Linked DNA regions of Homo sapiens: all the other regions are linked to region 3. Evidence: promoter capture Hi-C in 16 types of primary human blood cells and fetal thymus (Javierre and others, 2016). All regions are on one chromosome and are shown on one strand. The core of a region is centred on a gene start or on the middle of the fragment in contact, and the rest is flanking DNA. Distances in the headings are between cores, read along the strand shown.

The links. The method cuts DNA at HindIII sites, captures the fragments that hold promoters and counts their contacts. A CHiCAGO score of 5 or more calls a contact.
Region 1: the fragment with the promoter of FAM210B here is called in contact with the fragment with the promoter of PFDN4 in region 3 in 3 of 17 cell types (M0 macrophages, erythroblasts and M2 macrophages); the score reaches 10.0 in M0 macrophages.
Region 2: a fragment that was not itself captured here is called in contact with the fragment with the promoter of PFDN4 in region 3 in 2 of 17 cell types (naive CD4 T cells and total CD4 T cells); the score reaches 8.5 in naive CD4 T cells.
Region 4: a fragment that was not itself captured here is called in contact with the fragment with the promoter of PFDN4 in region 3 in 1 of 17 cell types (M2 macrophages); the score reaches 5.5 in M2 macrophages.
Region 5: a fragment that was not itself captured here is called in contact with the fragment with the promoter of PFDN4 in region 3 in 2 of 17 cell types (non-activated CD4 T cells and naive CD4 T cells); the score reaches 7.2 in non-activated CD4 T cells.

Annotation. Positions count from the first base shown.
Region 1 is chr20:56,357,681-56,360,380 of GRCh38, reverse strand. FAM210B (family with sequence similarity 210 member B) reads right to left here and starts at 1,407. Exons shown (of 3, transcript NM_080821.3): 1 at 1,190-1,407. The coding sequence starts at 1,375. RefSeq lists a silencer at 1,131-1,730. The HindIII fragment of the contact is 7,749 bases long and covers 1-2,700 here.
Region 2 is chr20:52,118,713-52,121,412 of GRCh38, reverse strand. It overlaps a transcript of ZFP64 not described here. Among named protein-coding and RNA genes, the nearest start is that of ZFP64, 72 kb to the left of the region's middle. The HindIII fragment of the contact is 2,467 bases long and covers 160-2,626 here.
Region 3 is chr20:54,206,815-54,209,514 of GRCh38, reverse strand. It overlaps PFDN4 (prefoldin subunit 4), which reads right to left and starts at 1,428. Exons shown (of 4, transcript NM_002623.4): 1 at 1,391-1,428. The coding sequence starts at 1,414. LOC124904937 (a long non-coding RNA gene) reads left to right here and starts at 1,474. Exons shown (of 2, transcript XR_007067669.1): 1 at 1,474-1,558; 2 at 2,459-2,569. RefSeq lists enhancers at 397-1,213, 1,354-1,673, 1,214-2,031 and a silencer at 1,094-1,363. The HindIII fragment of the contact is 8,273 bases long and covers 1-2,700 here.
Region 4 is chr20:56,487,438-56,490,137 of GRCh38, reverse strand. The region is part of intron 5 of RTF2 (replication termination factor 2); the gene reads right to left. Among named protein-coding and RNA genes, the nearest start is that of RTF2, 20 kb to the right of the region's middle. The HindIII fragment of the contact is 2,876 bases long and covers 1-2,700 here.
Region 5 is chr20:52,136,184-52,138,883 of GRCh38, reverse strand. It overlaps a transcript of ZFP64 not described here. Among named protein-coding and RNA genes, the nearest start is that of ZFP64, 54 kb to the left of the region's middle. The HindIII fragment of the contact is 677 bases long and covers 1,110-1,786 here.

The DNA.
Region 1 (2,700 bases), core at 158-2,657, 2.2 Mb before region 3:
GAGTGCAGAGAAGACCCACAGCCATGGGGTGGAAGCAGGCCCAGTGGAGGCATCCGAGACCTCACAGGTCGTTAGAGAGGGCTTCCCGGAGGAAGGAACAGCTGGGCTGGGCCCTGAAGAATCATCAGGAGGCGGCACGGTGTGTGCAGAAGGTGCCACTCTGGAGAGGATCCCCAAGACCTGTGTGCCACCTGTCGGACTGGAGAAGGCAAGGAAGGAAGTTGATCTGGGCAGGAGGCATGATGAAAGCCTGGGTCCAATCCCCATCCGCTCCTTACTGAAAAGCTAGGAAACGGTCAGGAGATGTTCGCTGGGCCGGCGGCACTCCGCTGAGGCCTGCACCAGCTCATGGAGTTGTCTCCCAAACTCTTGCTGGGAAGGTGCTATTTTTGGCCCTCTAAAGGTCAGAAAACAAGCTCAAAAGCCTTCAGGACTCGGTCTGAGGTCACCGGGCGATGAATGGAGGGGCCCTGTCTGCACCCAGGCAAACAAAGAGGCTCCAGACTGCCAGGCCGGATGCGCTCCGGGCTGGACGCCGGCTCCGCGTGTCTGGGCTTGCCATTCCTGGACCGCCAGACTTCATTTACTACTATTTTTATTTAAAAAGACTCACTTGGAAGAAAGTGATAGATTTCTTGAAAGGAAAGCTGGTATGACTGCTCTGAAGGAAAACCAGTTTTCACTTAGCACCAATGGAAAGTGACGGAAATGAAACATAACAAACAGCACTGTGGGTTTCTTGCCCGCGGCTTCCCTGAGGACGCCTGCTCTTCCACTCAGAAGAAAAGGGAGGAGCAGCGAGCGTCGGGAGGTGTTCAAAACACAGCGAGACCCAGCCAGAAGGCCTGGACAACAACTCCGCAGGCAACGTGTGGAAGTTCAGACCAAGTCAGTCGGCTGCGCCCCAGCCTGGCTGAGGCTCTGCAGACCCGGGGCTCGGCCGAAGACTGCGCGACCTTGGGCAGAGCGCCACACCTTCCCGAGCCTCAGTTTCTCTGGCTGTCAACTAGGAGGATCGCTTCCTTGGCTTGCAGGGATTTGGGGTTTCGGGGACCCTGGAAGAGCTCGGTCCCGGGCAGCTACAAGTGCAAAGGCGTCCTTGGCGGAGGCGGCCGGACCCCGGCGCGGCCCTGCGGACGTCTGGGGACCTGGACACCGCCCGGGATCAGGGTCGGGGTGGGGTGCTTACCTGGTGGCCGCGGCAGTCCCCGCGCGCCGTGCGGAGCAGCCGGGCGTCTAGCCTGGGCGGGAGCAGGGCCAGGGCCAGGGGCGGCGGGGCGCAGGGGGCGGTGGCGCCCAGGAGCCAGGTGGCGCGAGGCCGGACCCGGGCGCCCACCCTGCCTGCCGGACCCAGCAACGCCAGCAACCCGGCCATGGTGCGCAGCTAGGCGCAGCACCCGCGCCGCTGACCCGGGAGGCGGGCGGAGGCCGGGGAGGGTGGGCGGAGCTGACCCGGCGAGGGCCCTCCCCGGCCCCGCCCGCCGGCTTCGCCGCCGCGCGCGCGCGCTGGGCGGGACTGAGGAGGCCTGTGCACATCCCCTTGGCTCACCCGCTAGCTCCGCTCCTCGGGAGCCGGAGTCCAGGGCTGGTGGGCGGGGCTGAAGGAGCGCGCCCCGCCTCCTCTCCGCCCACCAGCCCCGCCCCTTTGGGGGTGGGTGCAGGTCTTTTCAGGGTCTTGGGCTTTCTAACTGTGGTGTGTAGTTGGCGGGTTTCCTTATTCTGCGGGCACAAAGGTGGGCGTAGGGCCGTGGCTTATGAGCTTTTCTCCCTGCAGAAATGGGTGAAATCTGAAAAAAAATTATAGATATGTTTACGTGTTAGCTCCAAAGAAGAAAATAAATATGAGAATTGATATTAGTACATGTTTAATAAAAAGTCCTCTGACCCTCATAGATTGTTGGCGTGAATGTAAAGCGAAAGATGGTGTGGCAGTTTCTTGAAAAGTTAGACATACACTAACCATACAACCCAGCAACTCCACTCCTCGGTAGCTTCTCAAGAGAAACAAAGGCTCGACACTCAAAGACTAAAATGTGAAGACACCAATGTTTGTAGAGATCTTATAAATATTAGTCAACAATTAGGAATGCCCATAAACTGGGACGTACTGTGGCACAAGTCTTCAATGGGACGCAATGCAACAATTAAAGGGAACAGACTACTGATACATGCACAACATAAATGAATCTCAAAGCTCTTATGCCAATTGAAAAAATCTAGGCACAAAAGTCACACACTGGAGGATTCCAGCTACATGAAGTGCCCAGAATAGGCAAAATCACAGAGACCTAAAACAGATCCGTGGTGGCCTAGGGCTGGGAGTGGGAAATGAGATTGACTGCCAAGGAGTGGGAGGAACGTCTTGGGGTGAGGGAAGGATCCTAAACCCAGATTGTAGGGATGGTGACAGCTGTGTAACTAAAACTCGTGGGACTGTACACTTAACATGGATGAATTTTATGCTGTGTAAATTATACTTCAATAAAGATGTTCTGGCTGGGTGGAATGGCTCATGCCTATAATCCAAGCACGTTGGGAGGCTGAGGTGGGAGGATTACTTGAGCTCAGGAGTTCAAGACCAGCCTGAGCAACATAGCGAAACCCTGTCACTACAAAAATAAAAATAAATTAGCCTGGTGTGGTGGCATGCACCTGTAGTCCCAACTACTCGGGAGGCTGACGCAGAATTGCTTGAGCTCA
Region 2 (2,700 bases), core at 144-2,643, 2.1 Mb after region 3:
ATCCGGCTGGTTCACTTTTTTATCACTCATGTGTTCACTGGAGTAGCACTTTTAACTTCCCCCAAGAACTTTTCCTTTGCATCCTTGACTTGGCTGTTGGACTCAAAAGGCCCAGCTTTCAGCCTGCCTTGGCTTTTGACATGCCTTTCTCACTAAGCTTAATCATTGCCAGCTTGTGATTTAAAGTGAGAGATGCACCACCCTCCCTTTCACATGAACACTTATAGGTCACTGTGGGGTTATTAATTGGCCTAATTTCAATGTTGTGTCTCAGGGAATAGAAAGGCTCGAAGAAAAGGAGAGAGAAGGGACTGGCTGGTCAGTGGAGCAGTCAGAACACACACAACACTTGTCAATTAAGTTCCCGTCTTACATGGGCACAGTTCATGGCACCCTAAAACAGTTACGAGGGTAGCATCAAATATCACTGATCATGGACTGGGTGAGGTGGCTCATGCCTGCAATCCCAGCACTTTAGGAGGCCAAGGCGGGCAGATCACCTGACGTCAGGAGTTTGAGACCAGCCTGGCCAACATGGCGAAACCCCATCTGTACTAAAAATACAAGAATTATCTGGGCATGGTGGCACATGCCTGTAATCCCAGCTACTAGGGAGGCTGAGGCTGGAGAATCTCTTGAACCTGGAAGATGGAGGTTGCAGTGAGCCGAGATCACGCCACTGCACTCCAGCCTGGGTGACAGAGCAAGACTCCGTCTCAAAAAAAAAAAAAAAAAAAAAAAAAAAGATCACTGATCACATTAACAGATATAATAAATGATAAAGTTTGAAATATTACAAGAATTATCTCAGCATGACACAGAAACACAAAGTGAGCACATGCCATTGGAAAAATGAAGCCGATACACTTGCTGGATGCAGGGTTGACACAAACCTTCAACTTGTAAAAAAAGAAAAAAACACACAGTGTCTGTGACGTGCGATAAAGTGGCGTATACGCACATGGTGAGCCATCTATCGATGCCCTCTTTCCATCCTCATAGTCATTACCACGACGAGGATCATCATTCTCCTTCATTGGCTCTCAGGCACCTTCCCAAACCAGGCCTGAGATTTGCCTCTGGATGTGTCTGAGGTTTAACAGGGGAAAGAGGGTGTCCCAGACACCCTCTAACTGCTATAACAAAGTGCCGTAGACTGGGTAGCTTACACACAACAAAAATTTATTTCTTGCAGTTCTAGAGGCTGGAAAGTCCAAGATCAAGGCACTGGCAGATTCGGTGTCTGGCAAGGACCCCACTTTCTCATAAATGGCACCTTCTAGCTGTGTCCACACATGGTGGAAGGGGAAGGCAGCTCTCTGATGCCTCTTTTATAAGGGCACTAATTCCTTCCAGGAGAGTTCCAGCTCCATGATCCAAACACCTGCCCAAAGCCGTGTTCTTAATACCATCATGTGGGGGTTAGGATTTCAACATATGAATTGTGGGGAGGCACAAACATTCACAGGGGAAAGGAAAAATAGGAAATTATTTAATCATATTCTTTTTGCCATATGAAACCCTTCACACCTCCTCCCCACCCAACTCCTTCACCTTATCTCCTGTACTCCCTGCACCTCTAGTCAGACTAAGGTTTCTCAAAAGTGCCGTCTCTTTGCCTCCTGGTCTTTGTAGTGAGTGGGGAGGGGTTGTTTTTTGTTTGGTTGTTTTTTTGTTTGTTTTGAGACAGAGTCTTTCTCTGTCACTGCAACCTCCGCCTCCCAGGTTCAAGCAAGTCTCCTGCTTCAGCCTCCAGAGTAGCTGGGACTACAGGTGCACGCCACCATGCCTGACTAATTTTTTTGTGTTTATATGTGTGTGTGTGTGTGTGTGTGTTGTGTGTGTATATATATATATGTATATATATATATATATATATTTTTTTTTTTTTTAGATGAAGTCTCACTCTGTTTCCCAGGCTAGAGTGAAGTGACAGTCTTGGCTGACTGCAACCTCCGCCTCCTGGGTTCAAGCGATTCTCCTGCCTCAGCCTCCTGAGTAGTTGAGTAGCTGGGATTACAGCTGTGCACCACCACGCCCGGCTAATTTTTGTATTTTTAGTAGAGTCGGGGTTTCGACATGTTGGCCTGCTGATCTTGAACTCCTGACCTCAGGTGATCCACCCACCTCAGCCTCCCAAAGTGCTGGGATTACAGGCGTGAACCACCGAACCCAGCTTCCCTCCTGGTCTTTGTACAAGCTGTCCCCCTACCTGAAACCCACTTCAACTCACTTCTTTTTTGCTTTTATTTATTTTACTTTATTTTTGAGACAGGGTCTTGCTCTGTCACCCAGGCTGGAATGCAATGGCATGATCATAGTTCATTGCAGCCTCCAGCTCCCAGGCTCAAGCAATCCTCCTGCCCTCGACCTTTTTTGATAGCTGCCACCACAGGCACACACCACCACACCCAGCTAATTACTGTATTTTTTGTAGAGACGGGGTTTCACTATGTTGCCCCAGCCAGCCTCTAACTCCTGGCCGGAAGCAGTCCATTCACTTTGGCCTCCCAATGTGTTGGCATTACAGGCGCGAGCCACTGCACCCAACCTACTTCACTTCTTTACCTGCCCAAGATCTCATCCTACATAGCCAGGGCTACAAATCCACCTCTCTGAGGAAGCTTTACCTGCCCACTCTGTGAGAACCTTTATCACATATTTATCACACTGTACTATAGCTGTTTACTTATTTATCCT
Region 3 (2,700 bases), core at 179-2,678:
ACTCTGGGACACAGTAAGAATTTTTGGATGGCAGAATAGTAGGGTGAGCAACACATCCTGAGTTGGCTGGGGCTTTCCCATTTTTGGCAGTCCCTCAATTTCATATAAAAGGGGGCAATGGGTCACCCTACACCAGGCACAGATGGCATAGACTATGTGGTACTGGATAGGGGCAAAGCAAAGAAGTTCTAATGTGGTCTTAAAAGTGGAATGAACGCAAATCCCTCCAGCCAAGAGATTCTCATCAAAGACCCCCTATAGCAGTTTAAAACACAGACTCCGGAGTCAGAATGCCTGTGTTTAAATGCTAGCTTTGCCTCCGCGCCTGTTTTCTCATTGTTAAATAAGGATAAAAACAGTATCTCCCTCAAAGAACATAAAATAAACAATACACGCAAAACAACTTACAGCTGTACCTAGCACACTGTAAAGCTCCCCAAATTATCAGCCGTTATCTCCTTCCCCCTCTCCAATTTTCTTTTTCTTCTATCTGACTATCTTTACACATCTGGGAAGGCTCACGGGATTAAAAACCCCACATGGAAGTTTAGCCGGCTTAGTGGTTACACAGGCGTGCTTTGAGAAAAACAAAAACAAACCTGAGTTTGAACTCCAGCTCTGCTTCTTACTAGCTGAGTCACTTTAGGGCCTCTAACTGCTCTGTGTCTAAGTTTCTCTACCTGCAAAGTGGAGAGGAACCCATTGCACTTGCTGAGTTGCGGGGAGGATAACAGATAAACGGCCGGCTGCTGGGCCCGGCACATCTTCCATTCTCAATAAATACTGGTTTTAGCCTGAAGGACTCAGGGGCATCAAGCGTGGAAATGGGCAGCTCCAGGTTGGACACAGGGTCTCTGGGGCCTGCTAATCTGGGGATGCAGGAACCTGCTGTCCCCGTTATGAGCTGCGTAACCTCGGGCAGGTGACTCCCCATCTCTGGGCCTCAGTTTCCTCACCCGTAACCACGCTCCCAGCAGCAGCTACCCATAACCAGTGAGGCTAATGCGATCATGCCGGTGCAACGCCCGAGTCAAGGCCAACCACACTCAACGGGACCTTCGGCTTCCCACACCTCAGGGGCGAGGCCGGGGCTGCAGGTTCCTCAGACTCCCCGGGGGCACCCTCGGCATCGCGGGAGGCGGACCTGCGTCCTTCGAGGCTCCCGGCCCCAGCCCCGGCGCCCCGCCTCGGCTGGCCAGGTGCCTAGGAAAACGCTCAGGGCGCCAGGCGCGAGCAGGCCTTGCCGCGGGACCGCTCTCAGGGCCTCGGCCTCGGCCTCGGGTCCCACGCCGGGCTTCGGAGCTGCGCACCCCCAGCATCCCGCGCCCGGGCCCCAGCGGCCGAGATCCGGCGCCGCCCGAGCATCCAGAGCCCCGAGCTCCCCACTCACCGCCTTCTTCATGGTGGCCGCCATCTTGGGACTGGACTACCGCAGGCGGCGGGGAGGGCCGCAATGGCGCGCTTCGCCCCCGAGCGTTCTCTCGCTCCCGGTCGGCCTAGAACTCCCCGCAAAAATACAACACTGTCTCCACATTCCGTCCTCTTGGACTTTTGGCCAGTGAGTCCAAACGGCTGGGACGTAGGGAGGAAATGTGACCTGGAAGGACTTGGTACATGCCAATTAAAGGGACAGGCAACCCCCGTGGACCGACATAAACACGGGGGTGTGGCGAACGGCTCCGGCCGCGGGCAGCAGGGGGCGCGCCCAAGGCTCAGCGCGGCGGGGCCCAGCTGGGGCAGGATCAAAGGGCTCGGGGAATTTTTCTCCATCCGTCCCACAGACTTGCATTGAGAAAGCTAACCTACCTGTAAAACAGCTAGGAACGAATGGCCTTGGCAAATAGGGTGTGAGATTTATGTGCCATGATAATTCAGGTGGTGTAAAGGAGGTACTCCTATCTTTTAATGTAATTTTTTTTTAATTTAAATTCGGGGGGTATGTGTGCCGGTTTATTACATGGATATACTGCATGGTGCTAAGGTTTGGGTTTCTAATGATCCCGTTGCCCAAGTAGTGAACATAGTACCCCACAGGTAATTTTTCAACCCCTTTCCCCTGCCTCCTTCCCCGTTTTTGGAATCCGTAGCATTTATTGTTCCCACCTTTATGTCCACGAGTACCCAGTGTTTAGCTGTCACTCATAAGTGGGAACATGAGTGGTTGGTTTTCTGTTTCTGTGTTAATTCACTTAGGATAATGATGTCCAGCTGCATCCATGTTGCTGCAAAGGACATGATTTTGTTCTTTTTTATGGCTGCATAGTATTCCATGGTGTATATGGACCACATTTTCTTTATCCTATCCACCACTGATGGGCATCTGGGTTGATTCCATGCCTTTGCTGTTGTGACTAGGCAATCCTATTAATTAATTTACAGCAATATTACTGAACAATTACTGTATATTCTGACACTTGTGTCTCCCAATTAGTAATTTTTTTTTTTTTTTTTGCCTTAGGACCTCTTTATACTCCTGGAAATTACTGAGGACTCCAAAGAACTTTTGTTTATGTGGGTTATTTATCGATATTTGCTGTATTAGAAATTAAAGCAGAATTTTTAAAATGTATTTATTAATTCATTTAAAATAATATAAAACTCCATTCCATGGTAATAAAAATCACACTTTAAAAATAACTATATTTTCTAAGACAAAAATAAATTGAGAAGATTGTCATCATTTTACATTTTCACTGATCT
Region 4 (2,700 bases), core at 131-2,630, 2.3 Mb before region 3:
TGCTAGACAGAAGGAAAAGGGATTTGGAAGACAGATCCCACAAATCAAACATCAAGGAACCACAGAAAAGTAACACCTTTGTTTAAACAAATCTTTCTTCCCCTTGGATATCTAATCCAAGGAAAGCACATATGGAAAATATTAAGACTTTCAAAAAGAACACAAGAGCCCCATGACAGCCCACCACCACCTTCCCACACATTTCTACAGGCAAACACGGCGCCCCCAAAGGCGATAGCTGGCTACATGCTGACAGGCTGTTCATTCAGAAAGCTCAGATTAGCCACGATTATGTCCCCGGTATTTTATAACTCAATAGCAACTGAATGTAAACCCCATTAAAGGAACAATAAAAAAGATTACATCTTTCAAGTTACTTAAAACATAAGCCTGCCTTCACTTCATTCCAATGTCAACCCGTGGTACACCCAGTCACATACCGTGAAGGGGGCCCTGTAAAAGCATCCGCCCACCAGCACCGTTAGGAGGACATGGGTGCTCCTGGGTGGGGAAGTGCTCAGAAGAATGGCTGACACTTTTAACGGATGAGAAAATCGAGGCACAGGGAGATGATGGGATGTTCCTGGGACCACACAGCTGGGAAAGTGGGGCTGGGATTTGGACCAGGCAGCTACACTCTGCAGTGTGACTACTGAGTCCCAGGTAGCTACATGACCTTACGTCACACAAAGAAGCACAAATTGAAACAAACACCTGCCCCCAACAGGCTTAATGCTATAATGAAGACATGTCCTGAACAAATCATTTCAGTATGGCCAGGCGTGGTGGCTCATGCCTGTAATCCCAGCACTTTGGAAGGCTGAGGCGGGTGGATCACGAGGTCAGGAGTTTCAGACCAGCCTGGCCAATATGGTGAAACCCTGCCTCTACTAAAAATACAAAAAAAAAAAAAAAATAACCAGGCATGGTGGTGGGCGCCTGTAGTCCCAGCTACTCGGGTGGCTAAGGCAGGAGAATCACTTGAACCTGGGAGGCAGAGGTTATAGTGAGCCAAGATTGCACCACTGCACCCCAGCCTGGGCAACAGAGCAAGACTCCATCTAAAAAAAAAAATCATTTCAGTAACAGCAGGATAAAGCAGAATAATAAAAGTACACTAAATGCATGTGGAATGTAAAAGCCTGAGACTGGGCTTCAGTGGAGAGTGGGGACAGCAATGGAAAACAAGGCCAAGAGTCAGAGAGGTGGGGAGGCCGAGAGGCAGGGAGGCTTGAGAGGCAGGGAGGCCGAGAGGCAGGGAGGCTGAGACAGGCAGCTGCGACAGGCCAGGGAGGCCAAGGGAAAGCAGCAGCTTCCGTGAGCATGAGAACAAGAAGCCTAGGCTCACTCTCTCCTTATCAGACCCTCAGTCTGTTGATGGGTAGAGTGAAAGAACAAAATGAACATGTGAAAGTTTAAGGCTGCCTATGCTGTGTCTTATCTGATTCCTTGAGGCTAAATATTCACAAAGACTATAAAGATGGCAGAAACCTAAGATACTCTGAAGAAGGCCAAAGCCTGAAAACCAGAATCAGCTGCACTGACCACTTCTGACGACACTCCTTTTCCCTAACTTAACTTTTTCTCTTTCTACTCCACCCCCTCCATGAAAAGCAGGTAGACAGTGTGAGTATATATATTTTTGACTTCTAACTTTAAAACATCCACACACCCCATTCACCTATCTACAAAGCCTACATAAATGAAGCCACAGAGGTAGCAAGTCCAATGCTACGGATCACAACTCCAGTACTCTACATTGGCACTTTTTTTTTTTGAGACAGAGTCTAGCTCTGTCGCCCAGGCTGGAGTGCAGTGGCGTGATCTTGGCTCACTGCAACTTCCACCTCCCAGGTTCAAGCAATTCTCCTGCCTCAGTCTCCTAAGTAGTTCGGACTACAGGCATGCACCACCAAGCCCAGCTAATTTTTGTATTTTTAGTAGAGACGGGGTTTCATTATGTTGGCCAGGCTGTTCTCGAACTCCTGACCTCAAGTGATCCAACCACCTCAGCCTCCCAAAGTGTTGAGATTACAGGCGTGAGCCACCATGTCTGGCCCCACGCTCTATGATTTTATTTTCTAAATTGTGTATTATGGGTTGAATTATGCCCCCCTGCAAAATCCATATGTTGAAGTCCAAGCCCTAGTACCTCAAAATGTGACCTTATTGGGAAACACAGTCAATGCAGATGTAATTAGTTAAGATGAGGCCATTAAGTTGGGCCCTAATCCAGTACCGGGACTGGTGTCCTAATAAGGGAAAATGTGGACACAAAGACAGACATGATAGAGGGAAGATGATGTGAACAGGGCGAAGGCCGTCTAGAAGCCAATGAGAGGCCTGGACCAGATCCTTCCCTCAGAAGAAACTAACCCTGATGACACCTTGATTTTGGACGTTAGTCTCCAGAACTATAAGACAATGACTTTCCGGTAAGTCATCCGGCTTGGGTACTTAATTACAGCAGCCCCAACAAACTAGCACAGAGTATTCAACACAGTTCTGCAAAGGCAACTCTGATGTACAGTATAAAAGTAAAAATAATTCATTATCTCGTTCATTCTTTGTTGGCAACAGATGTATCTTTAAGACAATTTCCTGAGGTATTCCTGAATTTCAACCAGTGCCCTGTCATAACTGCAGAAAGTCGCAACAGCCAAGGTGGCCTCCACGAGGAGCCGGGAGGAGCCTACGCTC
Region 5 (2,700 bases), core at 199-2,698, 2.1 Mb after region 3:
TTTCTGTATGGCCATTTACATGACCAATTTTTGTACGTATTTGGTGACTATTAGAGAAGAATACACAGTCTCTGTAGAGTTTAAATTTTTATGAATTATTCAATTCTTCTAATCCTTTCTTAGTTTGTATCTATTTGGTAAACTCTGAAAGAAATATTTAAAAAATCTCTCTCGAGGATTGCATTTTTAAAACTAAGCTTTCCTTATATTACCAGGGTGCTTTTTTTTTTATTATATTTTGCCATATGTTGTTTGATGCATATAAAGTTTGTAGCTGTTCTACGTTCTTTGTCATTTTTTCCTTTTTTTCTCATGTACCTGTTCCTTCTATGTAATAATAGCTTTTGGCCTTAAATCATGCTTTATCTCATAATAACATTCTAAGTCTTATTTTGTATTTTTTTTTCATTTGCCTGGTTCATATCTGCCCATTCTGTTATTCAGTATCTTTCTTTATCAGCCTCTCCTTGTCTTTGATAGGACAATTCAAATCATTTGTATTTATTACAGTAATATATATGTGCTATTATTCACTTCCATCTTATTTAATATTTGCTATTTATTAAAGTTTGTGGTTTTCTCCTTTTTCCTTTTTAACTTTATTTCCTATCTCTAGAAAGTTATATATTCATCTCCATCCTGCTGACAGTTACATTCCAATTTTTTGTGTGTTGTTTTTTTGAGATAGGGTCTCTGTCTCCCAGGCTAAAGTGCAGTGGAGTGATCTTGGCTCACTGCAGCCTTTACCTCCCCAGCCCAAGTGATCCTCCCACCTCAGCCTCCCAAGTAGTTGGGACTCCAGATGTGTGCCTCCATGCCTGGCTTGCTTATTTATTTATTTATTTATTTATTTATTTATTTATTTATTTTTGTAAAGATGGGGTTTTTCCGTGTTTCCCAGGCTGGTCTCGAACTCCTGGGCTCAAGCAATCTGCTCGCTTTTGCCTCCCAGAGTGCTGGGATTAGAGGCATGAGCCAGTGCACCGGGCCTGCTTTCCAATATTTAACAATGATTGTTAAATATATATTTGCCTACTGCTGTGTAAAAAGTAAACATTAACCGTGCCTCAATCTTCCATTAAGAAATTCTTCCCTGATGAGAGGAAGCTTTTGGACTTCATCTTCTACAGCCGCCATCCTCAAATTCTGAGTTTTGCTGAGATGACTTATAAGTTTATTTCTAGGCCTTTGTTAAGTTTTGCCCTATGGTATGTCTCTTACATTCAAATTCCCAATTGACCATCTCCATTTAGATTTAACCAAAAATTACTGCATTCATTGTTCACCATAGTTTCTTACACCCTTCAGCTTCCCTATGTTGCGCTTTTACTCTGATTTCATTTTCATTTGGTTGGAGTACTTCCTGGAGCATATTCCTCAGAAGGGCACATAGGTGGGACTTCTTTTGTCCTGGCAGATGAATTATACCCTTGGACATAAGATCTTTTTTTCTTCAGTAGTCGTTAAACTCTGTTCTGGTGGAGATGAAAAGTTGGATCCCAATCTGATCCACTTCTTAGATGCCCTAGGTCCTGTAGCCCAGCAAAGTTGAGACAAAATGATGGTGTTACCAGGAAAAAAAGCAAGGCAGTGGCTCATTCTAGCCAGTCAGGTGGAGAGAACCCATCTCTGAAACTTCTCAGATAGAGAGCAGGGCTTCAAAATAGGAAATATTATTAATCTTAAAAATTATTATTTATTTCATCATACTTCTCAGCAACAAAATTATGGCTATATAAATTGAAATTCACATCTTTTATTTTCTATGATCACAGGGCTCCAAGCTTTAGACATTTCTTCAATATCAAATTACCATTAGGGCCAGGCACGGTGGCTCACACCTGTAATCCCAGCATTTTGGGAGGCCAAGGTGGGTGGATCACCTGAGGTCAGGAGTTTGAGACCAGCCTGGCCAACATGGCAAAACCCCATCTCTGCTAAAAATACAAAAATTAGCTGGGTGTGGTGGTGGATGCCTGTAGTCCCGGCTATTCAGGAGGCTGAGGCAGGAGAATCACTTGCCCGGGAGGCAGAGGTTGCAGTGAGCCGAGATCACGCCACTATACTCCAGCCTGGGAGACAGAGTGAGACTCCATCTCAAAAAAACAAGATAATTAGGAACTTTTGACCAAAGCAACATATATATATTATATAATTTGAAAAACAGTTATTAAATATAAGCAAGGTACTGGTGTTTTTCTATTTTAATGAGGTAGATAGGCCTGGTTTTTAGTTAGCTTATATATTCTTTATGATTATGAATTTTTAAAAAACCATTTTTCAGCAGTTGCTAGAATGAGATACAGTTTATTTTCAGTTATGTGTCAAATTCTTTTTTATTGATGTAAACTCTGAGTTTTATTCACATAAATAAGAATATAGAAATACAAGTTGTATTGTTATAGCAATATTTCTCAATTATTTTAATTTTTTCTGAATTCTATGCCAGAAAATCACATATTGATCAGTTGTCATTAATTGGGTCAATTTTATTAAAAACAAAGAACTGAAAACAACCTGGGGTTTCTTTCCCAATTATGGAATCACTTGCCTTCTCAACATTGATGCTGTGATATCTCAGATTTTATGGCTCCATGCATTGGTTCAGTATGGTTTATTAATAATGGGTCACTTTCTCTGCGCGTTCTTAGGTGATCAGTTTTAGGAAAAGGTATGCCTAGAAGTTAAGGATCTGAGAAT